7 separate regions of the Homo sapiens genome follow, and regions 2, 3, 4, 5, 6 and 7 are each linked to region 1. The links are contacts of gene promoters, found by promoter capture Hi-C in blood cells and fetal thymus (Javierre and others, 2016). All regions are on one chromosome and are shown on one strand. Each heading gives the region's core, a stretch centred on a gene start or on the middle of the fragment in contact. The rest is flanking DNA. Distances are from core to core; before and after follow the strand shown.

Evidence for each region. The method cuts DNA at HindIII sites, captures the fragments that hold promoters and counts their contacts. A CHiCAGO score of 5 or more calls a contact.
Region 2: a contact is called between a fragment that was not itself captured here and the fragment with the promoter of RHOC in region 1, in 2 of 17 cell types (endothelial precursors and activated CD4 T cells). The highest score is 5.7, in endothelial precursors.
Region 3: a contact is called between a fragment that was not itself captured here and the fragment with the promoter of RHOC in region 1, in 1 of 17 cell types (endothelial precursors). The highest score is 6.2, in endothelial precursors.
Region 4: a contact is called between the fragment with the promoter of LRIG2 here and the fragment with the promoter of RHOC in region 1, in 15 of 17 cell types (endothelial precursors, neutrophils, M0 macrophages and 12 more). The highest score is 11.3, in endothelial precursors.
Region 5: a fragment that was not itself captured here is called in contact with the fragment with the promoter of RHOC in region 1 in 2 of 17 cell types (naive B cells and endothelial precursors); the score reaches 6.1 in naive B cells.
Region 6: a contact is called between a fragment that was not itself captured here and the fragment with the promoter of RHOC in region 1, in 10 of 17 cell types (megakaryocytes, neutrophils, endothelial precursors and 7 more). The highest score is 13.0, in megakaryocytes.
Region 7: a fragment that was not itself captured here is called in contact with the fragment with the promoter of RHOC in region 1 in 6 of 17 cell types (naive B cells, endothelial precursors, total B cells and 3 more); the score reaches 9.6 in naive B cells.

The regions. Positions count from the first base shown.
Region 1 is chr1:112,705,007-112,708,804 of GRCh38, forward strand. It overlaps RHOC (ras homolog family member C), which reads right to left and starts at 2,121. Exons shown (of 6, transcript NM_175744.5): 1 at 2,072-2,121; 2 at 94-162. RefSeq lists an enhancer at 532-581 and a silencer at 1,841-2,560. The HindIII fragment of the contact is 12,151 bases long and covers 1-3,798 here.
Region 2 is chr1:113,111,924-113,115,721 of GRCh38, forward strand. LRIG2 (leucine rich repeats and immunoglobulin like domains 2) reads left to right here. Exons shown (of 18, transcript NM_014813.3): 14 at 556-837; 15 at 2,504-2,953. Among named protein-coding and RNA genes, the nearest start is that of LRIG2, 41 kb to the left of the region's middle. The HindIII fragment of the contact is 4,473 bases long and covers 1-3,798 here.
Region 3 is chr1:113,093,748-113,097,545 of GRCh38, forward strand. It overlaps LRIG2 (leucine rich repeats and immunoglobulin like domains 2), which reads left to right. Exons shown (of 18, transcript NM_014813.3): 5 at 592-735; 6 at 865-1,008; 7 at 2,127-2,270; 8 at 2,475-2,618. Among named protein-coding and RNA genes, the nearest start is that of LRIG2, 22 kb to the left of the region's middle. The HindIII fragment of the contact is 3,284 bases long and covers 282-3,565 here.
Region 4 is chr1:113,071,055-113,074,852 of GRCh38, forward strand. LRIG2 (leucine rich repeats and immunoglobulin like domains 2) reads left to right here and starts at 2,144. Exons shown (of 18, transcript NM_014813.3): 1 at 2,144-2,591. The coding sequence starts at 2,353. It overlaps LRIG2-DT (LRIG2 divergent transcript), which reads right to left and starts at 2,048. Exons shown (of 3, transcript NR_103777.1): 1 at 1,885-2,048. RefSeq lists enhancers at 1,615-1,864, 1,923-2,456, 2,115-2,424, 2,457-2,988, 2,605-2,664 and 1 more. The HindIII fragment of the contact is 20,110 bases long and covers 1-3,798 here.
Region 5 is chr1:112,364,995-112,368,792 of GRCh38, forward strand. No RefSeq gene overlaps it. Among named protein-coding and RNA genes, the nearest start is that of LINC02884, 6.3 kb to the left of the region's middle. The HindIII fragment of the contact is 1,286 bases long and covers 1,164-2,449 here.
Region 6 is chr1:113,054,391-113,058,188 of GRCh38, forward strand. All of the region lies in intron 1 of LRIG2-DT (LRIG2 divergent transcript), which reads right to left. Among named protein-coding and RNA genes, the nearest start is that of LRIG2-DT, 17 kb to the right of the region's middle. The HindIII fragment of the contact is 3,015 bases long and covers 122-3,136 here.
Region 7 is chr1:112,382,248-112,386,045 of GRCh38, forward strand. No RefSeq gene overlaps it. Among named protein-coding and RNA genes, the nearest start is that of CTTNBP2NL, 12 kb to the right of the region's middle. RefSeq lists an enhancer at 3,553-3,798. The HindIII fragment of the contact is 1,851 bases long and covers 1,035-2,885 here.

The sequences.
Region 1 (3,798 bases), core at 871-3,370:
CCCCACCCCCAGCACACACAGCGAGCATCTGCACAGTTCATCACACCTTCGCAGCTTCCCTCACTTCCTCCTTCCCTGGGGAGGGGAACTGACCTCCAGCCGGCTGAAGTTCCCAGGCTGCAGGAAGAGAGGGCGGGCTCTGGAGCTGAGATGAAGTCAAGGCTGTTGGGAAGGGGGAGGGGGCTAGAGTCTGGGCTGGGAGGAGCCCCAAAAGAAGAGACAAATGAGGGCCAGTCCCAGCACCAACCAGGCAGGGAGCAGTTAAGAAAGCGACGGTAACCTGATCTCAGCCTCAAACCTAGCTTTTTCTCTCAGTCCCACATCCTGTCAAACTGGGCTGACTGAACGCCTCTACTCCCCACACCCCACCACCACCTCACACTGCCCTTTAGGAAGCGAATACTCCAGCCCCAGGCCTCTTCCCTTCAACATAGATCCTGAGTGGCCCTTCCCTTGCCTCCAGACACATTCACAAAACTGTTGGTTTTGTGGACATGAGTCAGAGAATTTACAGGAGTTCAAAGTACACAGCCACACTCTTCCCACCACAAAACGGACTCTCTCTGATTCCCCAGAAGACAAGCAAGAAGGCATTCACCCTGTCGGCAGATCGCCTCCAGAAATGGAAACCATCCTCCAAAAAGAGGGTTCCTTGGGAATTCTATCCCGGTGACTGACGCTGGGATTTCTTCCAACTCCTCCACCCACTCCATTAGTTCACCTTGCCCTGTTTTGTAAAGATGGGCTGGGGTAGCCCCAACCTGGGGTGGGCAGTGTTGATGGAGGGCAATCACTACTGGGGTGAAAGCCAGTCACTTAGGCATGAGTATGCCACTGCTGTCCCCCCAGCAGGGTAATTCAGACGGCACCAGAGTGGTGGGAGGCAGAGGACAGAAACCCGGGGTTGAGGCATGCGTTAAGGGACCTGGAGCCTCCAGCCCAATTAGAAGACTTTCCCTCCAGGCTATGATTGGGCCAGAACAGCAGGCAGCCCAGGCCAGGACACTAGGCCCAAGGCCAAGATGGCATGGACAACTCCCTGTGAGAGGCAGCCCCAGAGGGACTGTCCCACTGACCCCTTAAGAGGGGCAACTGAGCCCCACACAGGGCCTGGAATGGAGCCTGGAACTTCTGGGGCCTTCCCCAAGACAAGACAGTGTGGCTACATCAGACCTCTCTCCAATCGCTCTCTTGAATTCCCAGATGATCCAGAGCGGCCGGTTGACTTTGCCGGCCCACCCTACACCTAGGGAAGGAATCCGTTCTGGAGATACCAAGAGATACTGCATTCTCAACTTTAAAACCAGAGTGAGGGCGGGACTCGGCCTCGGGATCCCAGTCCCAAACCCCAGGATACTCTTTCTTGGTTCGAGTATGAAGAAGGAGGATTCTCAATCTCATTTTCTCTCTCTCTCTCTCTCTCTACACACACACACACACACACACACACACACACACCACACACACACACACACACACACACACACACACACACACACACACACACACACACACACACACACACACACACAGAGTTGGATCCTTCCCCATCTCCCTTATCCTCAACACAAGCGGGCTCCAGGAACCGTCCAGGGCGGCGTCCAGACCCTGCCGAGCAGTGGCAGGCCCCAATGGTCACATCCCGCCCCTATTCCCGCCATACCTCCCTCCTGGCCTGGAGGAATTCCCACCCCATCCCACTCTAGGTCCCCTGCGGCCGCCCACCCTGGGGGCTGGGGCGTCTGAGTTGAAGTTCCCTCGCCCCTCGCCCGGCGGGGCAGGTTCCGGGAAGCTGGGAGGAGAAGGGAAGGGGCTCCGACTCGGACCTCAGGAGGCCAGAGCCCCTGCCGGCAGGTCCGGGCCCCCTCGCTGCAGCCCGGGGAGGGGCCGACGCGGTCCGACCACCGCCCAGCCCGGATGCCGACTCCGCTTGGAGGGAACGGGGTCCACGCCCAGGCCGAAGCCCCTCCTCGCACGGGCCCCGATCTCCGGGCCAGCGAGGAAGGGAAAGTGCTCTCCTGGGGACGAGTTCCCAAGACGCCCCACCGCCCGCAGCCCCGGCCCAGGGTACCTTCCGCTCCGCCGCCTCCAGCTGCGCGGCCGGTGCCGGAGGCTCAGACTGACCCCAGGGCCCCGCCCCGCCCTCCTCCAGCGCCGCGGCGGGGAGGGCGGGCCCGGCAGGGGGAGGGTCGGCCGGGGGCGGCCCTTGGCTCGGCCCGCCCCGGCCCCGCGCAGGGCCGCAGCCACCGGCCCCCTCCGCAGGCCGGGGACTGGGGGCCAGGGGCGTCCACCCCTCCAGGTCGGGGAGAGCCACGGGGAGATTCCTGGACTGCGGAGGAGCCGGGCGAGCGGGGGGAGCACGACCCGGGTGGACTCAGACTCTGCCCAGCCTTCAATCCCCTAGGGGAGGACCGGCGTCGGGAAAGTTAAGAGGTGCTCGGGGTGGGGTCAGGAAGGGCCGCTGCTGCCCTCCTGTGGCCAAGCGGCCACCCGCTCCTGCTGCACCTGGGACCTCGCGGGAAGCGGGACTGGGAAAGGGTATCCGCCGGGAGGTCCCAGGGCCCGGCGCGGGTGTGTTGGTTGGGGGGAGATGTCCACCCTCTTGTTCCTAGGATCGTACAGCCCAACGTCATCCCCCAAACTTGAAGACCTCTCAGAGCCGTTCAGACCCAGACCACCGTTCCTCCTCACAATTCGCTTTCTTCCCTGGGCCTGGAATTTCCAGGAGTCCAATTCCTACCTACTCCTCAAAGGGTGCGCCTAGAAATGCTTCTGGATCCCAGCTGTGAATTCTGTTCCCACTCCTAGGTCTGACTTGGCGCATAGGATATTTACCTACACGCGTATCTCCTTTCCCTGTAAGGGAGCTGAGGAGGTGGGAGTAGAATGAGGACGTCCACCAACATTTCATTGGCTTGTGCTTGGGACACTACACAGCTTAACCCTTTCAATATTCATCACAGATCTCTGGGGAAAATATACCCATCCCCTTTTGCCCATAGAGAAGCTGAGGTTCAGAGAAATCAAGTGGCTTACACAACTGTTTTTGACTTGTGACAGCAAGAATTCACACAGCCGGGCCTGTCTGGCTCCAAACTGGTGGTCTGGCCCTGCTACCTCACGGGCTCCTCCAGCCTGTCCCTTCCCCCGTTGTCTAGCAGAGTGAGTGGCACATAATAGGTTGTCAACAAATATTTGATGAATGAATGAATGTTAGGAGTCATACAGACTTTAAATATCTGAAGTGCAATCCAGACATTTGACAAATGTGAAAACAGGTCCGCAGCAGTTTGGCCCCAGGCCTCTTAACTGACTCAATGAACATTTCTCGAGGGTGAACTGAGAGCTATGTTCGGAAGATCCATTTCTGCCTTCAAACAACTTAGAGTCTAAATGAGGAATGCAATTTCAAGATAGCTAACATTTATTGAATCCATATTACATGGACCTGGGTCCACATACATTAACTACAAGAATCCCATGAGGTAGCTATCTCCATTTTACTGAGAAGCAAATTGAGGTTCAGAGAGGTTACAGAGCTAGTGCTGGGTCTGACACTAGAACCCAAACAGCTGAACTCTAGAGCCCCTGTTCTTAATTCCTACTCCCTACTGACTCCTAATGTAGACAGTTACAATACCGGAGGTCATTGCTGTAGTGTGGGCATGTGTGGGCTGTGCGATACCCAGTCCTGAACAACAGGTGAAGTTCTCAAGATAAGGTGATGTGTAGATTTTTTTAATTTTAATTTTTTTTTGAGACAAGGTCTCTGTTGCCTAAGTGTGCAGTGGCAAGATC
Region 2 (3,798 bases), core at 697-3,196, 410 kb after region 1:
CAGCCTCCCAGGGAAGCATCATTTAGCTTCATAAGTGAGAGAGTCATAGTAAATACCAGGTTCTAAAATACGAAGTTCAAAGAAGGTTTGTGGCCTTCTGCTTTCCCTAGTTCCAGCTGATGATTAAGTGTATCATGCATCCTAGAAGACACAGTCATCAGTGTGCTCCAAATACTCTGAGGTTCTGGAAGAAAAGATGTTCTCAAAACCATATTCACTCTTGGCTGGGTGCTGTGGCTCAGGCTTGTAGTCCCAGCACTTTGGGAGGCCAAGGTGGGAGGATAGCTTGAGGCCTGGAATTTGAAGCTGCAGTGAGCTATGATTGCGCCAGTGTACTCCCGCCTGGACAGCAGAGCAAGACCCTATCTCTAAAGTTTGTTTTTGTTTTTTTAAATTTATAAAACTATATTCACTCTCAATCAGAGAGCCTGTCTTCACAAAGAAATGGAACATTAGGGGGTGTCTTGCCTACTAGATTCTTTCATGCCTATTTGTATGCATATATGTGTCTTTGTTCCCTTGCCCACTTTTTCTTGGTGATTTTTCTGGAAACAGAGATGCCATCTTTTCTGAAAACGCCAATGGATCTGACTATTCGCACTGGTGCCATGGCCAGATTAGAATGTGCTGCAGAGGGACACCCTGCACCTCAGATTTCCTGGCAGAAAGATGGTGGTACTGACTTTCCTGCGGCTCGAGAAAGACGCATGCACGTCATGCCCGAGGATGACGTCTTCTTTATTGCCAATGTGAAAATAGAAGATATGGGAATCTATAGCTGCATGGCACAAAATACAGCAGGAGGTCTCTCAGCAAATGCTTCCCTAACAGTGTTAGGTACGTTTACTGCTCCATGGGTCCCTGCTTTTGTTGGAGTCTTTGGGAGCTACTCTTGGTCTTAATGAGCAAGAAAAATAAGTTTGAGATTACCTCTGTGATTCTTAGATCTTTATCTTATTTCACAATTTTATGCAAGGTTATGTCAGTCTAGGAATTAGTGGGTCAGATAACTGAAATGTGGGAAAATACATAGGGCAAAATTAGGTAGGCATCCTTGTCACAATAATTGAAAGTTCAAATTCCTTTATCAGCTTATCTTTTTAAGTCCCTCTCTGTAAGGTTTCTGTTTCATGTAGGTGTGTTTACTATTCACTGAGTTTGCATTGAGAGTTCCACTGTTCTTTTAGGAGTATCCCAGCCATTTGATGCTGCTTCACTTATTGCTTGATAGGAACCTAAGACTATTTAACTGTTTGCTCCTAGTTCATTTTCAAAAAAAATTTAATACAAAAAAAAAAAAAAAAGATGTGTTTTCTGGTTAGAGTTTCTGCTTTCCTTTTCAGTGTGTTCTTCTTAACCCTATTTCTGGTAAAATGCCTTTTTTCCTAAAAATTTTCCCCTGCTGGCCTGGGTTTTTTTTGTTGTTGTTGTTTGTTTGTTTTGTTTTTTCTTCCTTATTACAATACTTTTCTTCGTGGAACTCAAATCCAGGGTAAATTCTACTTTCCAGTTCTCTATTTTCCTATATGTCAGTTATTATTATTATTTTTTTTAAGTTTGTTGGTTTGTATTGTTTACTTGTATAACCAGAAAAATAAGAAGTCATTTATTTATTTATTTATTTATTTATTTATTTATTTATTTATTTATTTATTTTGAGACGGAGTCTCATTCTGTTGCCCAGGCTGGAATGCAGTGGCGCAATCTCGGCTCAGAGCAACCTCCACTTCCCGGGTTCAAGTGATTCTCCTGCCTCAGCCTCCTGAGTAGCTGGTACTACAGGCATGTACCACTGCGCCCAGCTAATTTTTGTATTTTTTTTAGAGACGGGGTTTCACCATGTTGGTCAGGCTGGTCTCGAACTCCTGACCTCATGATCCGCCTGCCTCAGCCTTAGAAAAATAAGTCATTTATTGTTTTAACATGTTAAGATATACAGAAAATTAGGAAAAGGGGAGGAAAGTCACTCAAATACTTAAGGATTTTAGCATATTCTAGACTTTCCCCTCTCACTTTTATGTAGTCAAATATACCTACATTTTTTTCATTTAATATTGTACCACAAGTTGCCTTGTTATTAAAGTCTTTGTAAAAGATCATGTGACTATAATTTACTTAATCATTTTTCTGCTAGATTTAAAAATGTTTTTCTTTATTCTTTAAAGTTACACATTTTGTAGTAAACATCTTTGCGTATAAATCTTTGAATTTCTTTTTTTTTAAGTTATTTTTAATCTTTTTTAATGGGTCACCGCTGCTCACCCCCTCCAGCTATTGCAGCTGCCCTGAACTTCTTTCTTAGGATAGCTTGCCTAAGCTGGAATTATCGAGAAAAGATTGAGGCTTTTTTCAGGATTTTGTTCTGAAACATTAACTTCTAATCCTCCCATGAGTATATAAAATTACTCATTTTATTATACCCCCATTGGTCTAATTCAGTAGAAATTAGGGAATAAAATTGCCTAACTTTTCATTTTTTTTTTTTTTAATGTTTTCCTGTTAGAGACACCCTCATTTATTAGACCCCTGGAGGATAAGACAGTAACACGAGGTGAAACTGCGGTGTTACAGTGCATAGCTGGAGGGAGTCCTGCCCCTCGTCTCAACTGGACTAAAGATGATGGGCCTTTGCTGGTGACAGAACGACATTTCTTTGCTGCAGCCAATCAGCTTCTCATCATTGTAGATGCCGGGCTAGAAGATGCTGGGAAATATACCTGCATTATGTCTAACACCCTTGGGACAGAACGTGGCCACATTTACCTAAATGTCATTTCATCCCCCAATTGTGACTCTTCCCAGAGTAGCATTGGGCATGAAGATGATGGCTGGACCACAGTTGGCATTGTCATCATTGTTGTGGTCTGCTGTGTTGTTGGCACTTCTTTGATCTGGGTCATTGTTATTTACCACATGAGAAGGAAAAATGAAGACTATAGTATCACAAACACAGGTAAGTAGTACCCACATGACACCTATGGCTTGTACTTCAGTCAAGAATGTAGTATAGGATTAATTGTACAATATAAAAAACTGAGAGCTGGTCATAGTAGCACATGCCTGTACTCCCAGCTACTCAGGAGGATGAGGTGGGAGGACTGCTTGAGCCCAGGAGTTCAAGGCCCACCTGGGCAACATAGCAAGACCTCATCTTCCCCCTCAAAAAACTGAAGAGCTGTGATACATTACCTGATATGTGATAGAAGGGAGTTTTTGTTGTTAAAATGTTCAACTTCTTTGATATAACAGAACCTCTTTGAGGAATAGGTTCATAACAGAACCTCTTTGAGGAAAGAATTTTGTTTATTTGAGATAGGGTGTTACTGTAATGCCCAGGTCAGAGTGTATCGGTACATTCATGGCTCACTGCAGCGTTGACTTCCCAGGCTCAGGTGATTCTCCCATCTCGGCCTTCTGAGAAGCGGGGACTATAGGCATGTGCCACCGCGCCTAAGTTTTTATATTTTTAGTAGAGTCGGGTTTTGCCATGTTGCCCAAGCTGGTCTCAAACTCCTGGGCTCTAGCAATTTGTCCACCTTGGCCTCTCAAAGTGCTGGGATTACAGGCATGAGCCACTGCGTCTGACCAATTTTAAGAATTTGTAAATTTTTTTTTTTTTTTTTGAGATAGAGTCTCGCTCTGTTGCCAGGCTGGAGTGCAGCGGCATGATCTTGGCTCAATGCAACTTCCACTTCCCGGGTTCAAGCGATTCTCCTGACTCAGCCTCCCGAGTAGCTGGGACTACAGGCGTGTGCCACCATGCCCAGCTAATTTTTGTATTTTTAGTTGAGACGGGGT
Region 3 (3,798 bases), core at 674-3,173, 390 kb after region 1:
ATGTACCCTAAAACTTAAAGTATAATAATAATAAATAAATAAAAATAAAATAAAATAAAGCACATGTTTATTATTCATCAGTACCTATCCAAAAATATTTGGTTATTTATTGTGCTTTTTATATGCATATGTGAGACAAACCTAGAGTTGGTGTGTTGGGTGGTTGGCTTTGCCACTCACCCCACAAGCCCCCTAAAGAAAGATCGCACTATTGTCAGAAAATATTGGTAGATATCAAGGGTAATTTTGAGATTCAATTTTGTTTGTTTTTTTTTGAACCAAGCTTTCTAAAAGGTAAATAGAGATTTGTTAAACAATGGCTTACTGTATATAATGATAATTAGCATGTGTGCCAGTGTTTTCCAGTTTACAAAGCATATTCACACATGCTGTTTTGTAACAACCTAAATGAAGTAGGTAGCTTCTTAATTTTGTAGATGAAGAAACAGAGCAGTTAAATGATTTATAAAGTTGTGGATGGGCATTAAGTGATAGAGCTGGGGGCTTAGACATAGATTTTTGGCAGCTTTCTAGTGGTAGAATTTTTATTTTACTAAATTTTTTCTTTTGCTATTATCTTGTTTATTTTAGGAATTTAAGTAATAACAGAATAACCACCTTGGAGGCTGGTTGCTTCGATAATTTATCAAGTTCCTTATTAGTGGTAAAGTTAAACCGTAACCGAATGAGCATGATTCCACCTAAGATCTTCAAGCTGCCTCACCTCCAATTCTTGTGAGTAACGAAATAGACGGATTATAAGAAGATAGTTTTTTCTTACAGGGTCTTTTTCTTTTTAATTTAATTACTGTTAGAACATTTTAGCAAACCAATTTCCTGACTGTAAAACTATTTTTGTTAAAGGGAACTTAAAAGAAACAGAATTAAAATTGTGGAAGGTCTTACATTCCAAGGGCTTGACTCCTTAAGATCTTTGAAAATGCAGCGGAATGGAATTAGCAAACTTAAGGATGGAGCATTTTTTGGCTTGAATAACATGGAAGAACTGTAAGTACTCGGGACTAGAGGTGATTATTAGGAAAGTAGTCTGTTTGGGACTTTTCAGTGTCGAATGGCTAGGGTAGTTGTTCTGATTATAGAGATACATTCATTCATTCCCTGGTCACTGATGTGAAGTAAGCGTACATAAAACCTTTAAAGTTTTGTTAGCTAACTGATCAATTTTGAAATAATTCTTACAAACTTCTCATCTAAAAAGTTTATATATATATATATATTTTTTTTGAGATGGAGTCTCACTCTGTTGCCCAGGCTGGAGTGCAATGGCGTGATCTCAGCTCCTGCAACCTCTGCCTCCAGGTTCAAGTGACTCTCCTGTCTCAGCCTTCTGAGTAGCTGGGATTACAGGCGTGTGCCACCAGGCCCGGCTGATTTTTGTATTTTTAGTAGAGATGGGGTTTCACCATGTTGGTCAGGCTGATCTCGAACTCCTGACCTCATGATCCACCCACCTTGGCCTCCCAAAGTGCTGTGATTACAGGCATGAGCCACCGTGCCCGGCCAAAAAGTTTATATTCTTAATGTTTTGGCTAATGAAAATTACCAGAATTTATCCAAACAGGTATACTATACCACTTGGCCTGTTGGTTTTGTAGAGCTCCTATTTTAGACAGTCTTACTACCTTCTAGCACTAAATCTCTTTTTTTGTTGTCGTTGTTGAGATAGAGTCTTGCTCTGTTGCCAGGCTGGAGTGCAGTGGCACAGTCTCGGCTCACTGCAACCTCTGCCTCATGGGTTCAAGCGATTCTCCTGCCTCAGCCTCCCGAGTAGCTGGGACTACAGGCGCGCGCCACCGTGCCCAGTTAATTTTTGTATTTTTAGTAGAGATGGGGTTTTACCATGTTGGTCAGGGTGGTCTTGATCTTTTGACCTTGTGATCCGCCCACCTCGGCCTCCCAAAGTGCTGGGATTACAGGCATGAGCCACTGTGCCCGGCCAAGCACTAAATCTTAAATAAGATATTCATTTTTATTGAATAGAATTGGTCAGCTCAGTTGGGTTGAACAAAGGTATATGCTTCTCTGGGAAAAACTTAAGATTTAAAGCTAGTTATTGAACTGCCTTGTTTTGGAACGTATTTTCTTCTCTTTCTCTAATTCTGCAGAGAACTGGAACACAACAACCTTACACGAGTAAACAAGGGGTGGTTGTATGGCTTGCGAATGTTACAGCAGCTCTATGTGAGCCAGAATGCTATTGAAAGAATCAGCCCTGATGCATGGGAGTTCTGCCAAAGACTATCCGAACTGTAAGTGTTGGATAGCATTTCACTGGAGGCAGTTAAGACTAGAGCAGATTGGAATAAATCATTCCCATGGGCAGTAATGAGATGTAACATCCCTCTTTACTAGAAATTTGTAGAAAGCTCTAAATTTACCATGTAGATATAATAAGAATTGTAAGTTGAACCAAATACAATGAATTCCTTACCTTCCACATTTCTTGTTTTCAGTGATTTGTCCTATAACCAGCTGACCCGCCTGGATGAATCTGCCTTTGTGGGTCTGAGCTTATTGGAGAGATTGAATTTAGGAGACAACAGAGTCACTCATATTGCTGATGGTGTATTTAGATTTCTTTCCAATCTTCAGACATTGTAAGTATATCCATTCTCCTTTTTGGTTGTTGTTACTGATTTTTTTAGTACAATAAAGCAAATTAATTAAAACAACTAATCAGTCTGCAAATTCTGTATGCTAACATTTTGTGGTTCTTCTGTCCTATGCCTCAGAGCAAGGCAGTCTTATTTGTCTCCATCCCCATAAAAATCCCAAGCCTGTCGTAGGCAATTCAGTTTGTAGTTTAATTCTGAGTTAATCCCATAAGCATCAAAGCATGTCTTATTGTGTTAGTTGCTGTGGAATAAAACACAGTTGCTAGTGTCAGGAGAGCAGTCATTTTCTTGTTCCTTTGACTTTGACAATACACCAGAGCTACTAGTTCTCATTCGAAAGGATGCAGGTTGTGTAGTGGGAACTGCCGTGGTAGGAGACCAGTTCACTGTTACTGGTTTGCTACATGACTTTGGACAGAAGAAACTAATACTTATTATCTGATATGTGCCAGGTACTTTCAAATACTAGGATGATACTGCTGTTTTCCATATTAGGAGGCTGAGGTTCAGAGAAATTTAAATAATTTTCTCTAAGTCACATAGCTTGTAAATGTTGGGCCAGAATCAGATCCCAGGTCTGTTTGATGCTAAAGCTCATGTCCATTTTATCATACCAACAGAAGAACAAAATCACTTAGCTTTTCCTGGCCATCATTTTTTTTTCTCCTTTATACGGTGAAGGAAGGATATAGGATTAGATGGTTGCTAAAGGCAGTTTCCACGCTAAAATTCTGTGGTTCTGTAAGTTATTCAATTTACAGAATATAAGAATGTGTTTTTGTGAACTTTATATATTTATATATAAATATATCTAATTTTAGAATATAATTTTATTAAATGAAGAGGTATTTTAATGAAATATAGTAATCTCAAACACAGAGCAGAATAAAAGAAAACAAAGAGTAATTAGTAGAATTTGTAGATTCTTAAGCTTCCTGAATAGAGGACTTTGTGGTCATTAGGTTTCGAGTTGAAATGGTTCAGAGAAGAGGCAGGTTCCCAACTTGGAGACATAACCATCAATGAGAGGGAAAACAAGATAATTTTGTGAAGGGTATATACATGCACAGGTGTGTATTTGATTTTTTAAAAAATTCCTTTAGATTTGGCCTTGAAAAATTAAAAGTGATTGTATTTTTCCTTTTCCTATATTATCAGAAGT
Region 4 (3,798 bases), core at 894-3,393, 370 kb after region 1:
GCTGACCTTCCCTCCACTATTGTCCCATGACCCTGCCAAATCCCCCTCTGTGAGAAACACCCAAGAATTATCAATAAAAAAATAAATTAAAAAAAAAAAAAAAAAACACATATTTGCGGCTGGGTGTGGTGGCTCATGCTTGAAATCCCAGCACTCTGGGAGGCCGAGGCGGGCGGATCACCTAAGGTTGGGAGTTCGAGACCAGCCTGACCAACATGGAGAAACCCCATCTCTACTAAAACTACAAAATTAGCTGGGCGTGGTGGCGCATGACTGTAATCCCAGCTACTCAGGAGGCTGAGGCAGGAGAATCGCTTGAATCCAGGAGGCGGAGGTTGCGGTGAGCCGAGATTGTGCCATTGCACTCCAGCCTGGGCAACAATAATGAAATTTTGTCTCAAAAAAAAAACAAAAAAAACAAAAAAAACAAAAAAAACGTGTATTTGTGGCCAGTCACAGTGGCTCATGCCTGTAATCCCAGCACTTTGAGAGCCCGAGGTGGGTGGATCACCTGAGGTCAGGAGTTCGAGACCAGCCTGGCCAAAAAGGCAAAACCCCGTCTCTACTAAAAATACAAAAATTAGCCGGGCATGGTGGTGCACACCTGTAGTCCCAGCTACTAGGCAGGCTGAGGCAGGAGAATCGCTTGAATACGGCAGGCAGAGATTGCAGTGAGCCACTTACTGCGGAGGATACAGGTTAGAGAGCATTAATTTCTAATGGCCCCATTTGGTATAGTTTCATAGGAAAGCTCTGAAACTATAATGTAGAAAGGAACTAAACTGCCTCCTTTTTTTTTTTGTAAGGTTCCTGCCTATGCCGGATTTCTTACCAGAGTTTGTTAAGTCTGCTCAACAGCTAAGGGAAGAAGGCTAAGAGTAAGTTTCATTCCGCTGTCTTGGCTTTAAAAGTTTGGTTTGGACTGTAGCATTGGATATGGCCTTGTTTCCAATATATACTTCAATATTAAAAAAAAAAAACAGAAAAAGGTTTTTAAAAACATAATTATGACTCCATAATCTGCCATGGGAAAGATTGCTTTCAGTTACTTTCTATGAGAACCCTAACCTAGGCATTATCATTCTTTTTAACCTGCTCAGATTTTCAATTTATGTCAGAAAACCCATGTTAATGTCGAACCTGCCCCTGCCTCAAGAGTAACTTGGTTTAACCTCTTGGGGCTTGTTGCATCATCAGCAATAATTGTCTTGCCAATGTCACAGTCACTGAAGGAGCAAACAAGATAACAGATGCAAACGCCCTTTGAAAAGTTCACTACGTATAAGTGAACCATCACTATTATTCTCAAAGTCTTATTTACAACCTTGGATGGCTGAATGAGCATAAGATGGCCAGACTTCACTGTTCCTAGTAAGTTTTCCATAGCCTCTGCTTTAGGAGAAATAAATTTCCTCACATCCAGTCTTTGCTTTGTTGACTGCTCAACACCCTCTTGTCTCGCTTGCTTTTCTGAGAGTGACCTTGACAGCATCCCTCCAAAGAGAAGGGTATTTCCTTTATATAGACATGCAGGTGCAGTCCCACCAAAATTTATTGAACTCCAAGCTAGAACAAAAGGTGGAGGTGCACCGATGAAGAAACAGGGCCTCTGCCTTCAGGAGCTTACAAGGCCATTAACAGAGAGTGATATTGATCTTATGCAAATGGCAGTTGCCGCCTACTTGCAGAAGAGCAGGGGCTACAGCCAAGCAGCAGGGGGCAGAAGAGGCTCGAGCTCGGCTCTGGAGGCCGATCTGGCCAAAGCCAGGATAGAAGCTCCCGTGACCCATTCGTGTGTGCGACTTGGAAGGCAGCCCTTCTGCCACTCCCCTTTCTTAAAGCCCAGAGCAAATAAAAGATCCTTTTCTACTACAGTAGATATACCTGTAGTCAGGACTTTGAACTCACAGCTATTCGCCGCACCATTCCCTCTTAAGGAACTACTGCGCCCTCCAGCGGAAGAACAGCGGCGGAACTCCACAGCGGCAGCTAAAATCCCTGAACGCTTTAAAGTCCTTCTCCTCAAGATACTCGGCTGCGTCTGGCCCCGCCCCTCACTGAGTTCCGCCCCGGGCGCAACCTCATCTTATGGCACCGATTGGCTGGCCCCTGTGCGTGAGGACGTTGCGCCGTGGGGAGGGGCGGACGAGAGGTGTCCGTCAGGCCGTGTGTCCCAGGCCGTCGACCCCGCTGTCGCGCTGCGTCTGCTCCTTGCATGCCTTTAGATGGTACAGCCTTCAGCCGGGGCTTCGGGAGACAGTGCAGCCACCGAGCATCTCTGCTGAGCTTCTCCGCCGATCCTCCTTTTCTAGCAGGCAGCTCTTCTAGGCCACGTCCAGGTCGAGGGGGAAAATGGCGCCGGCGCCCCTAGGCGTCCCGGAGGAGCAGTTGCTGGGGTGTCGATCTAGAGTGCTTTCTCGGTTACTCTTCATTGCCCAGACCGCTCTCCTCCTGTTGCCCGCCGCCGGAGCAGGTCTCTGCCCCGCGCCCTGCTCCTGCCGCATTCCTCTCCTGGACTGCAGTCGCAGGAAATTGCCCGCACCGAGCTGGAGGGCGCTGTCGGGCTTGCTGCCCCCCGACACCGCTATCCTGTGAGTAGAGCGGCCAGGCAGAGTGACCAAAAGGAGGGGGAGCCTTCCCTCTACAGGGGGCAGGCAGGAGGGAGACAGGCCTGGTCGGAGGGTGTGGTCGAGAGCCTAAGCTCTGAAGGAAACTGCCGTCAGGATTTTATGAACTTTGTTTTAGGTGGTGGGAGCCTAAAAAAGCCGGTGTTAAGGTTTCTGGAGAATTGTATGAAGACGAGGGTTAAGATTCTTGGGGCCAAGGAGTCTGTGATTTCCTCAACTGGGGAGGAAATGGGGCGGGCATATTTAATGGTAAGGACTCACGGGTCCTGGGCACCAGCATTGACTTTGGATGGTTGGTGGGGCGGGGGGTGGGTTGAGCACGGAACAGTGCTTTCTGCTTATCTTGAGCTGCATGATTTGGTGTGTACCTCAGACTTAGTGGTCCTCAGGCACGTGATTTTATAATCACAATCGCCAAAGACCTATGAACTGTCTTTAGTCCTTAGTTCGCATGTTGGCTGATTTTGTGCTGCAGTTTTGATACTTAACAGGGTTGAAAAGTTCATTATGATGAATCAGGAGATCCTGTAATTCAGAATATCTTTGTAAGTAGCATTCTTGATCTAATTTAAACTTCACTGTAAAGAGGAGGAGTATTTTTTGCAGAACCATTTGATGCTTTGTTTTCAGCGCATCTTCTTGTGGCAAAGAACCCAAAAATCAGTTCTGCTTATTTATGTAGGTAAAGCAGGTACAACGGTTGAATGAATTCTGGAGTTTCCACTGTTGAGTTTTCACTTTGACAGGTCTTTATTAGACAGTGGAACTTGGAGGGCTCCTTAGTCTGAGTCAGCCTGGTGGTATTAGGAACAACAGCAGGTATTAAATGCTGCAATTATGGGGCTTCTTAACCACTAACATACAGTTATTTCTCGTCACTAACTGAGCAGCACGTTTATTAACTGACAGATTTCTGATGGAGTCGTTAAGAAAGAGTCATCAATGGGCCAGGCGCGGTGGCTCACGCCTGTAATCCCAGCACTTTGGGAGGCCGAGGCGGGCCGATCACGAGGTCAAGAGATCGAGACCATCCTGGCCAACATGGTGAAACCCCGTCTCTACTAAAAATACAAAAAAATTAGCTGGGTGTGGTGGTGTGCGCCTGTAGTCCCAGCTACTCGGGAGGCTGAGGCAGGAGAATCGCTTGAACCCGGGAGGTGGAGGTTGCAGT
Region 5 (3,798 bases), core at 557-3,056, 340 kb before region 1:
ATGCTAAGTGAAAGACTCTTGAAAAAAGGAGTACATATTATATGATTCCATTTATATAAAATTTTTAGAAATACAAACAAATGTATAGTGACCGAAAGCATATCAGTGGTTGCCTGAGGCTGGGGGAAAGGGGCAAAGTGGGTAGGAAAGACAGATGGCAAAGGGATACAAAGAAACTCCAGAGGATGATGAGTATGTTCACTGTCTTGATTTTGGAGACGATTCTGGGGATGTGTTTTAAACTCATGAAATGGTAAACTTTATGTGTAGTTTACTGTATGTCAGTTACACCTCAATAAAGCTAGAGAGACAGAAAAAAAAAGAAAGAGACAGAGAGAGAGAATTCATGAGTAAATATACAATGTATCATTAGGCCGGTCACAGTGGCTCACACCTGTAATCCCAGCACTTTGGGAGGCCGAGGTAGGTGGATCATCTGAGGTCAGGAGTTCAAGACCATCCTGGCCAACATGGTGAAACCCCATCTCTACTAAAATACAAAAAAATTAGCAGGGCGTGATGGCAAGTGCCTATAATTCCAGCTACTCGGGAGGCTGAGGCAGGAGAATCGCTTGAACCCCGGAAGGCTAAAGAGCGAAACTCCATCTCAAAAAAAAAGAAAAAGGGCCGGGGGTGGTGGCTCACGCCTGTAATCCCAGCACGTTGGGAGGCCGAGGAGGGTGGATCACGAGGTCAGGAGATCGAGACCATCCTGGCTAACACGGTGAAACCCCGTCTCTACTAAAAATACAAAACATTAGTTGGGCGTGGTGGCGGACGCCTGTAGTCCCAGCTACTTGGAAGGCTGAGGCCGGAGAATGGCGTGAACCCGGGAGGCGGAGCTTGCAGTGAGCCGAGATCCCGCCACTGCACTCCAGCCTGGGCGACAGAACAAGACTCCGTCTCAAAAAAAAAAAAAAAAAAAAGTGTCATTATAATATCCTACAAAATGGAAAAAATGTGACAGAGACTGCTGCTCAGATTCTGTCCCACCCAAAAGACGGTGTTTCAGGATAGAATGATCCCAGAAAGTCCAGTTGGCTGACACTTCCCCAGATCTTTTATACAAACTTTTCCTTTACTAGAACACCTTTCTCTCACCTTATTGCTGTTGACTATCAACATATTTTTCAAGCCCAGCTCAAATCTAAACTAATCCCTGAAGCTTTCCTTGTCTTCTCCAGGCAGTTAGTTTGTGGCTCAGTCTGTGCTTTCCCAGCAACTGGGAATCCAGTAATATATCCCCCTTGATATTCTAGGATGTAAGATTTGTGGTTTCAGCTGTTCCCAAAAGACCATAAAGGTCCCCCAACTTGTACTGATTTGTCATTTTACTGAGGCACAAATTTGATTCCAGCCAGCTATGAAGTCCCTACAGAGAAGGAGTAGATGAGATAGTGAGTAAGACGAGCCCCCACCTACCCCCAAGACTTCATAACCCAAACCAACTTTGTTGGCATCTGCTTAACATAACAAATTTTAATTTTTCTTTTATGAGGAATGGACTGCCCACCCCACCCCCAACGGAAAAAAAAACTATCATCTGGTGATGGAAATGATGAGTGAGTGAAACAGTCCAAAAATGGAATGGTCCTTAGCCAGAAAATAGCTTTATAAATTACTTTAATCTTGTATTAAGAATCTGGAAGGGTCACTTAAAAATCTTAGTTGTACTTCACAGAATTTTATGGGGAGAAGTTATATACTACAGCGAAATTAACTGGATTAGAAATTTGAAAAGGCTTTGGGCCTTGCCCCTCAATAATGTTAAAAGTTCCCAGTAGCTCTAGTGAGTACTCATCACATTGCATTATAATTATGTGTTTAGCTATCCATCTAGCCTAAGAAGCAGTCATCTACGCCCTAGAGCTACATCATCTGGGTTCAGATCACAGTTCACCTAATAACCAACTTGAACAGGTTACTTAACTTCTAGGTGCCTAGATTTCTTCATCTTTAAAATAGTAAAATAGTACCTAACTAATCACATTAATTTTGAGTATTAAATATGGCAATACATAAAAAGCACTTAAACCAGAGTCTTACCCATCAAAAGTGATTGATAAATGCTAGTAACTAGTTTAAGAGTTTGCTCAAGGGCAGAGTTTATGTCTTAGGGAGCTTTTTTAAAATGTGTAGTTCTCCAGAGGCTTAATGCAGTGGCTTATGCACATACTACGTGCTCAATGAGAGCTGAAAGAATGAGTGAATGAGTCAGTGAGTAAATGAGTTATGGCTCTGCCACTTTGTCCGTAAAGTAGAAATTGCTTTATTCTAGTATAATAGCGGCATTTTGGCTTGGCTGGTCTGGTATTCGGACATAACTAATTCTGGCCAACATTCTCACAACTATCAAATCCACTACTGCAACCAATTTGCAACTTTTGAGAAACATGGTGCTATGATTGAGAGTGAGTAAGAGGAGCAGAAAGGACTGACGGAGGGGCAAAGCTTTACCTCTGACATGGTTTGGATGTGTGTCCCCTCCAAATCTATGTTGAAATGTGGTCCCCAATGTTGGAGGTGGTTCATGGCGGAGATGTCTGGGTCATGGAGGTGGATCCCTCGCCAATGGCTTAATGCTGTCCTCACGGTAATAAGTGAGTTCTCACTTTATTAGTTCACATGAGAGCTGGTTGTTTAAAAGAGCCTGGCATCTCTCTCTTGCTCCCTCTCTCACCATGTGACATGCCTTCTGCCATAAGTAAAATCTTCCTGGGGCCTCACCAGAAGCTGAGCAGATGCCACCACCATGTTTGTACAGCCTACAGAATCATGAGCAACATAAACCTGTTTTCCTTATAAATTACCTAGTCTCGGGTATTCCTTTATAGCAATGCAAAATGGACTAACACCTGTTGACCATGGTGGAGAGATGAGGAATAGAATCTGCCAAAACTGTTCAAGAGATGCAGACAGACAGAGCTGCCTTGGTATTCAGGTAGCACCCTTGCCCCCTGAAGTCTATGTTCAACCCAGCACCCAGTGTCATCCTTTTAAAATGTAAATTGGATCATGTCACTTTCCTACAGAAAACCCTCCAGTGGCTCCTTGTCTCACTTGGAACAAAACCCAAAATCCTCCCAATGGCCTGGAAGGTCATGATCCAACCAGTGGTGCCTCTCCCCTCCCACCTCCTACCTTGCTCCTCCTTGCACTCTCCACTCTTGCCTTTCTGCTGGACACTGGCCTTCTTGGTGTCCCTCAGACACTCCCAGGAGACTCCTGCTTAGAGTCTTTGCACTTTGCTAGTCCCTCTGCCGGGTATGCTTCTCCCCAGAAGTTCATGGCTCACTTTGCCACTTCATTTGAATATCTGCATGAATATCCGCTCCCTTCTCTGTCCACCTACCTAAAACTCCATAACTTTTGTGACTTTATCGTATGCATTGCTCTAGCACCAATACCTGGCCTAGTGCCAGGTACTCAATAAATACTTGTTGATTGATGTAGGTGAATAAAACCCCAGGAATCCACTTGGTTTTTGCTTCTATCTCCCTTCCAGGGCTAAGTCCTCCCCAAGTAGAAGCTTCTCCCTAGTAGTGAACTATCTGTGTCCAAACATAACTCCTGCACCCCCAGCAAAATAAGGGAGATAAAAATGTGTTATTGAAACAAAAAGGAGCTGCTGATTGTATAATCCTCTGGTGGGGAAACTCAGGGATCTTTGGCTTGACAAAATGAGTTTGCATTAGCCATTGTTTTCAGTGAAAGGTGTAAGGTATAAGGCGTTCAAAAAACAGAAGTCCTGATTACTGTGACTGTTCAACAACTTAAGTAATGGAAGGGAATGTGGTA
Region 6 (3,798 bases), core at 379-2,878, 350 kb after region 1:
AGCTGACCTCCTTTGCAATCCCAAGATGGGCTACCTACCTGCCTTCTCTTTATGCTCAGCAAGAAAGACAGCATTTTTGTCCCAGTGTTTCCAACAGTCCTGAGAATCACCCTGATTACAAAGCTTTGGCCATATGCACCAATCACAATAGCGGTGGATAAAATGCAATATTACCTTTGCCTTTAGGGATTTCTTCCTTGACCCCTGAAATCAGGGAAAGAATCAACTTTTCCAGGACTCAAAATGTCCAAATGTAAAACAGGACTCCTGGGAAAGTGGAAAGGGATCAACCAACAACCATCCTCTACAGTCATAATGAAAATTCAGAGGACTCACTAAAAGCCTTGATTTTCACATAATCTTACTGATCTTTAGTACCCCTGAAAACTTCACACTCAAAGCCTCTGTTTAATCCATTGATTCTCAATGCCTTCAGAGATTCTGACTTCACTGGCCTAGATATAAGCATTTTGTTTTGAGCTCGCCAGGTGATTCTAATGAGCAGACAGAGCTGAGAACCATTGCATTAATCTTTCATGATTGCCACTTCTGCAGTCATATGCTTAGTTTTACATACAGCTGAACTATGTTGAAACTAAACAAGAATGATAAAGTCAAACATGTAATACAAATAATAATAACTCTTATTGAGAATTATGTTTCAAGCACATTGCAAGATGTTTTACATACATTGTCTCATTTCATCTTGTGAAACACAGAATATTATCATTATTATTATTTTTTTTGAGACGGAGTCTCACTTTGTCACCCAGGCTGGAGTGCAGTGGTGCAATCTCAGCCATGGCAACCTCCGACTCCTCTGTTCAAGTGATTCTCCTGCCTCAGCCTCCTGAGTAGCTGGGATTACAGGTGTGCACCACCACGCCCAGCTAATTTTCGTACTTTTAGTAGAGACGGGGTTTCACCATGTTAACCAGGCTGGTCTCGAACTCCTGACCTCGTGATCCGACTGCCTCGGCCTCCCAAAGTGCTGGGATTACAGGCCTGAGCCATTGCGCCCAGCCTATTTCTTAACTTAGTTGTCCAACTTAACTTAGTTGTCCAAGATCACGTATCTAGTATGTGGCTAAGACAGAACTTGAACCCATATGTACCTGACTTCAAAACTCCATGCACTTAACCCCTGTTATAAATTGTTTGTTCCAGAACCATGACTAGAAGAGATCTCATTTAGAATTCAACAATTTCCCAGAGCTCTTTAGTCCCTGACCCACCTGTGTATTTGTCAGGGCCTGCCAGGTCACATTTAGGTGGGTTTTTTTTTTTTTAACTACCTCTTAGTGCCTCCTGCACCATCTTCCATGTTTTATATATACTGTATTGCACACACCCAGATTACATTTAGTATATAGCCACAGGTATAAAAAAGGGTGTGACAAATGTGCTTACGGATTACATATTGTGCACTTTAGAGTTTATATACACACTTATATTTTACACACATATAAAAATGGTGAATATAATGTAGGGAAGAGAATATTGACTCAGAGTTCCATATTTGACTAGCACTGTGACCTTACAGGCACATTTGTTGAATTTCTTTTTAATCATATGTAAAATGGGGAGATAATGCGTGCTTTTCCTAATTGCACTATTATCTAAGGATCAAATGAGATCCCACACCTAGCAAGGTGTCTTGCTTGTACATTTTTATTTGCCAGCTAATGAGCTGTACCTATGAAGTCTTGTAAATATATATGTAAAAGCTGCTATCACCTTTTACAGAGTAATATTGCACCTTTGTGTATCTTTGTTGATTAGCCATAAACTCTCCCTCCCCTGTTTCTCACCTACTGACAAATTTCTGGAATTCTGTGTAATAAGCACGGGTCAGAGGTTGGAAATGTAATAGAAAACAGAGGAAAGGACAGAAGGAAAGGGAGTGAGAGAAATATTTGTTCAATTGACATACTAGCATGTTTTGATTTGTTTTTAACTAAAAAACGAGTCACTGTTGGCTAGGTTTATACACTATTGTTGGAAGTGTAAATTGCTAAAAATTTTGAAGCGGGGCTGGGTGATGTGGCTTATGCCTGTAATTCTAGCACTTTGGGAGGCTGAGATGGGAGGATCACTTAAAGCCAGAAGTTCAAGACCACCTGGGCAACACAGCAAGACCAACAAAACTCTATTAAAAAAATAGCAAGACTTTACTAAAAATTAAAAACAAAAAAAAAATTATCCAGGTGTAGTGGGATGTGCCTGCAGTCTCAGGCCTGTAGCCCCAGCTACTTGGGAAGCTGAGGTGAGAGAATCGCTTGAGCTCTGGAGGTCGAGGCTGCAATGAACTATGATCATGCCACTGCACTCCAGCCTAGGTGACAGAGTGAGACCCTATCTTCAAAAAAAAAAAAGAAATTTAAAGAGCTAGTTATCAAACTGAACATCAACATATAAATCCCACTTTGTATTAGATAATAAAAAACAAAAAATTAAGCTCACATTTATACCAAGATTTACACAGAGAAGGTACAAAAAGATAAACAAATGATTAAATTAACCATGGCTATACCTCGTGGGTGGGGTGTCTGGGAGGGGAAGTTTCACTTTTTATTTAATATTCTTCTGTATAGCTTGTTTACAAGCATTTACTATTTTTTGCAAAAGTGAAATAAGCCCAGAGCAGAGAATAGCTAGATATGCATACATCAGCTGTACTCCTGTGTTATTCTTCCTTGGCTCCTCTCTGCAAGGCCAGTTTACTGTCCCGGGAGGGTGCTGACCCCTGCCTGCCTGGTTCTTCTTGTTCTGTTTTGCAGTTCATTACCAGCTGCTTAAGCAGCAGGTTCCCAGTGGCTGGTCAGCTGGAACTGCTTCAGGAGGACAAACAGGAAGGATGCAGCTGCCAGTGCAGATTACCCTGTTAGCCTTATTGACAGGAAAAAAAATTTAAACCTTAAAATGTTGAGGAAAATGTCATGCTATTAACAACTCCCTCATGCCTCTGCCTAGATCAGGCAGTGAACTGGATTTGGGTTGCTCGGAAGGAATCCTCACAATTGCATGTAACAAACTTCCAGCTCCACGTCCTAGCAACTTGCCCCCAACACTTGGTTAGGGGTTACGTTCCACAGGCTAGATCCCATGGCAATCCTATCCCCCTACGTCAAACTAAAGCTTCCTCCATGGAAAAATAAAACGTCTCACCATTCCTGCAGCTAGCCTTCTCTCATGCAGGATGCCTGCAGGAGCTCAGAGTAAAGGGAAAATTCCTTATAAGACAATCAAGGTAAGAAGTGCAGCTGTAGTGGATGAAGTGCAGGTAGATGGGTATCGTATCTCTGCTCTGACACTTTCTAATCATGTGGCTTTAGGCAAATGACTTCACCTCTCTTAGACTAAGTTTCCTCATCTGTAAAATAGGGAAAATAAATATACCTGCCTCATAGGGTTGGACATAGAGGAATGCAAGTGCTATATTTATTTATGCAGTAAGCCTCATTTCCTATCACTCCCCACAATAGCAGTGGTTAAGAGTTCGGGCTCTGGGCCGGGCGCAGTGGCTCACACTTATAATCCTAGCACTTTGGGAGGCCGAGGTGGGCAGGTCAGGAGATCGACAACACAGTGAAACCCTGTCTCTACTAAAAATACAAAAAAATTAGCTGGGCATGGTGGCAGGCACCTGTAGTCCCAGCTACTGGGAGAGGCTGAGGCAGGAGAATGGCGTGAACCTGGGAGGCGGAGCTTGCAGTGAGCCGAGATCCCGCCACCATACTCCAGCCTGGGCGACAGAGCAAGACTCTGTCTCAAAAAAAAAAAAAAAAAAAAAAAAAA
Region 7 (3,798 bases), core at 710-3,209, 320 kb before region 1:
GAGTTCGAGACCAGCTTGGGCAATGTAGGGAGATCCTGTCTGTAGAAAAAAAAATTTTTTTAATTAGCTGGGCATGGGCTGGATTCAGTGGCTCACGCCTGTAATCCCAGAACTTTGGGAAACCGAGGCAAACAGATCACCTGAGGTCAGGAGTTCAAGACCAGCCTGACCAACATACAGAAACCCCATCTCTACTAAAAATACGAAATTAGCTGGGTGTGGTGGCACATGCCTGTAATCCCAGCTACTCGGACTCGGGAGGCTGAGGCAGGAGAATCACTTGAACCCAGGAGGCAGAGGTTGCAGTGAGCCAAGATCACACCATTGCACTCTAGCCTGGGCAACAAGAGCAAAATTCTGTCTCAAAAAAAAAAAAAAAATTACCTGGGCATGGTCGCATGCGTCTGTGGTCCCAGCTACTCAGGAGGCTGAAGTGGGAAGATCACTTGAGCCCAGAAGGTGGAGACTGCAGTGAGCTATGATTCCACCATTACACTCCAGCCTGAGTGACAGAGCGAGACCCTGCCTCAAAGCAAAAAAAAAATAGAAAAAAGTAAAGAAAAGAAAAAAAGAACTGGCCACATAATCCAGTGTTAGTGTCTCTCCTCACAAGAAAATACGAAGAAAAATACTGGCCATGGGCTGGGTGGGGTGGCTCACGCCTGTAATCCCAGCACTTTGGGAGGCTGAGGTGGGTAGATCACCTGAGGTTGGGAGTTCGAGACCAGCCTGACCAACATGGAGAAACCCCATCTCTACTAAAAAATATATATATATATATAATTAGCCAGGCATGGTGGTGCATGCCTGTAATCCCAGCTACTTGGGAGGCTGAGGCAGGAGAATTGCTTGAACCCAGGAGGCAGAGGTTGCAGTGAGCCGAGATCGTGCCATTGCACTCCAGCCTGGGCAACAGTGAGACTCTGTCTCAAAAAAAAAAAAAAAAAAGAAAAGAAAAAGAAAAGAAAGGAAAAAAGAAAAAAACAGGCCACAAAGAGTTGGAACGAGCAGAGATGGGAGAGACTGAGCAGGAAAGCTTGATGTCCTCAGGGCCGCCAAGAGAAAAGGAAAAGAAAAACAGTGTCTAAGGCTTCATGGGGCACAAGTTCGGGGCCAGGCATATCCACACAGTTTATCAACAAGATGGTGTTTGCAAATCTTAAGGGTGCAGTTTCACTTGCAGGCAGGAGTGAGACTGCAAGGGGAAGAGGAGAAGCTGCAAGGTGGGAACAGGGAGCAGGGAGTGTCTCAGGGAGAATTGTGCAGGAGGTGGAAGTAGAAGTCATGTCCCAGAACAGAGGCATCCAGCACCCTGCTTTTGTGTACGTGTGGTAAGAACACTTAAAATGAGATCTAACCTCTAAATAAATGTTTAAGTGTACAGAACATTACTGTTGACCATAGGTATGATATCATACAGCAGATCTCTAGAGCTTATTCATCTTGCTGGACTAAAACTGTATGCATGCACATTGATTAGTAACTCCCCACCTCCCCCTCCCCTCAGCCCCTGGCATTCCACTCTTTGCTTCTATGAGTTTGACTCTTTTATTTTATTTCATTCCAACAGCCTGGGAGAGTTTGACTATTTTAGGTGCCTCACACAGGTGGAATCATGCAGTATTTATCTTTCCATGACTGGCTTATTTCACTTAGCAGCTTGTCTAAAGTTTGGTCAAGGAGAGAGTCTTTGTCACCAGTTGGCTGGGGCACAGAGAGTGAGGGGGCAGATCTGCTCTGGCTTATTCTGGAGAGATAAGCAGCAGTCAAGGCTTTGTAAATCCAGTTATCCTAAGAGCACTGAGAAGTTCTAATTGGGAAGGAAGTGATATGACATGATCAGATTGTGTTTTCTCAAAATCTACTCAGATTGCTCTACGGAGAACAGGCTGGAGGGGGTGAGAAGGAATGCTGGAAGACTAGTTAGATTGCCAGTGCTATTGTCATGACAAGAAAATGGGCAGAACAAGGTGATGGTGGTGGTAGAAACAGACATAGAGGGATTTGAGAAATGTAAAAGGTGAAACTGACAGGACTTGGTGATAGATTGGTGGCAGGGAGAAAAAGGTATCAATAAATGGCTTGGTATCTCATTTAATCTTTACTACAACCCTGTGAAACACATTATTATTTCCTCCATGTTATGGATAAGGGATTTGAAACTCAAAGTACTTGAGCGACATGCCCAGATCACACAGCTGGTAGGTCTGGCTCTAAAGTGACGCCCGCTCCACTATGTTATACAACAGTCAAGCAGTTCTTCCTTAAAGAATGGTCTCTTTCCTCGTACACCACTGAAGGCTATGCCTAGTCAATACTTCTACTAATAGCATGGTACTTCACCTACAATATTCTCATTATCTGTTTGCCTATACAACAGGAAAATAAATAAGAATATTATCACAGAAGCCGGCCGCAGTTTAAGCCAGCTGACCTCCAAGGACAGTACAAATCAATTCCTTTGCTGAAGAAGGTGACTTCTTGGGCTTATCTGGCTATAAAAAGTGAGGGCCCCTGAAGAGAGCTGAGATAAGAAAGGTTAGGGCAATAAGAAATTAACTTGCTCTGCATGACAAAGTTACAGGAATTTTGAAGAAGGAACCATAGCCATTAATATAGTTTGGATGTTTGTCCCCTCCAAATCTCAGGTTGAAATGTGATCTCCAATGTTGGAGGTGGGGCTTAATGGGAGATATTTGAGTCACGAGGATGGATGCCTCATGAATTGCTTGGTGCCCTCCCCATGGTCATGACTGAAGTTTCATTCTATTAGTTACCATGAGATCTGATCATTAAAAAGAGCCTGGACCTCCTGCTCTTCTCTCTTGCTCCCTATCTTGCCATGTGACATGCCTGCTCCCCCTTTGTCTTCCACCATTAGTAAAAGCTTCCTGAGGCCTCACCAGAAGCTGAGCAGATGCTTGTGCCACTCTTGTACAGCTTGCAGAACCGTGAGTCAAATAAACCTCTTTTCTGTGTAAATTACCCAGTCACAGGTATTCCTTTATGGCAATGCAAAGTGGACAACTACAACCATCATGCCCATCACTGTAACCCTAGTGCCTAGAACACAGGTACTCAACATATTTTGTTGAATGAATTTGCTTTAAGAAGGGGGTTATGTCTGGAAGAGAAGATGGGAGGCAGGGTCTGGAGAGAAGTGGCGTTAGAAATTAATGAAGAAACAGGAGTGGCCGGGCACGGTGGCTCACGCCTGTAATCCCAGCACTTTGGAGGCCAAGGAGGGCAGATCATGAGGTAAAGAGATGGAGACCAGCCTGGCCAACATGGTGAAACCCCGTCTCTACTAAAAATACAAAAATTGGCTGGGTGTGGTGGCCCACATCTGTAGTCCCAGCTACTCGGGAGGCTGAGGCAGGAGAATCGCTTGAACCCAGGAAGCAGAGGTTGCAGTGAGCTGAGATCACGCCACTGCCACTGCACTCCAGCCTGGGTGACAGAGACTCCATCTAAAAAAAGAAAAGGAAAAAAAAAAAGAAAGAAAGAAACAGGACTGATGAAGTCTAATGGAATTCCTTGAAATGGGATGGTCCATGGCTTTCTACAAACAGTATTAACTGATACTAAATTTTAAATTTTCTGTTTTAAAAGAAAAATTGTTATAAAACTGGACTGGAATAGAACTTTGTATTACATAAATCATGTAAATTTCTGGTCAAATGTTTATACAGTTGTCTGATATACATTAAAGGCAAACTCTCTCTTGTGGGTGATATTGATGTCAGTGGTGGGCCATCTGGAGCAGCCACTGCCACTGCGCCAACTGCCGCAGGGAGG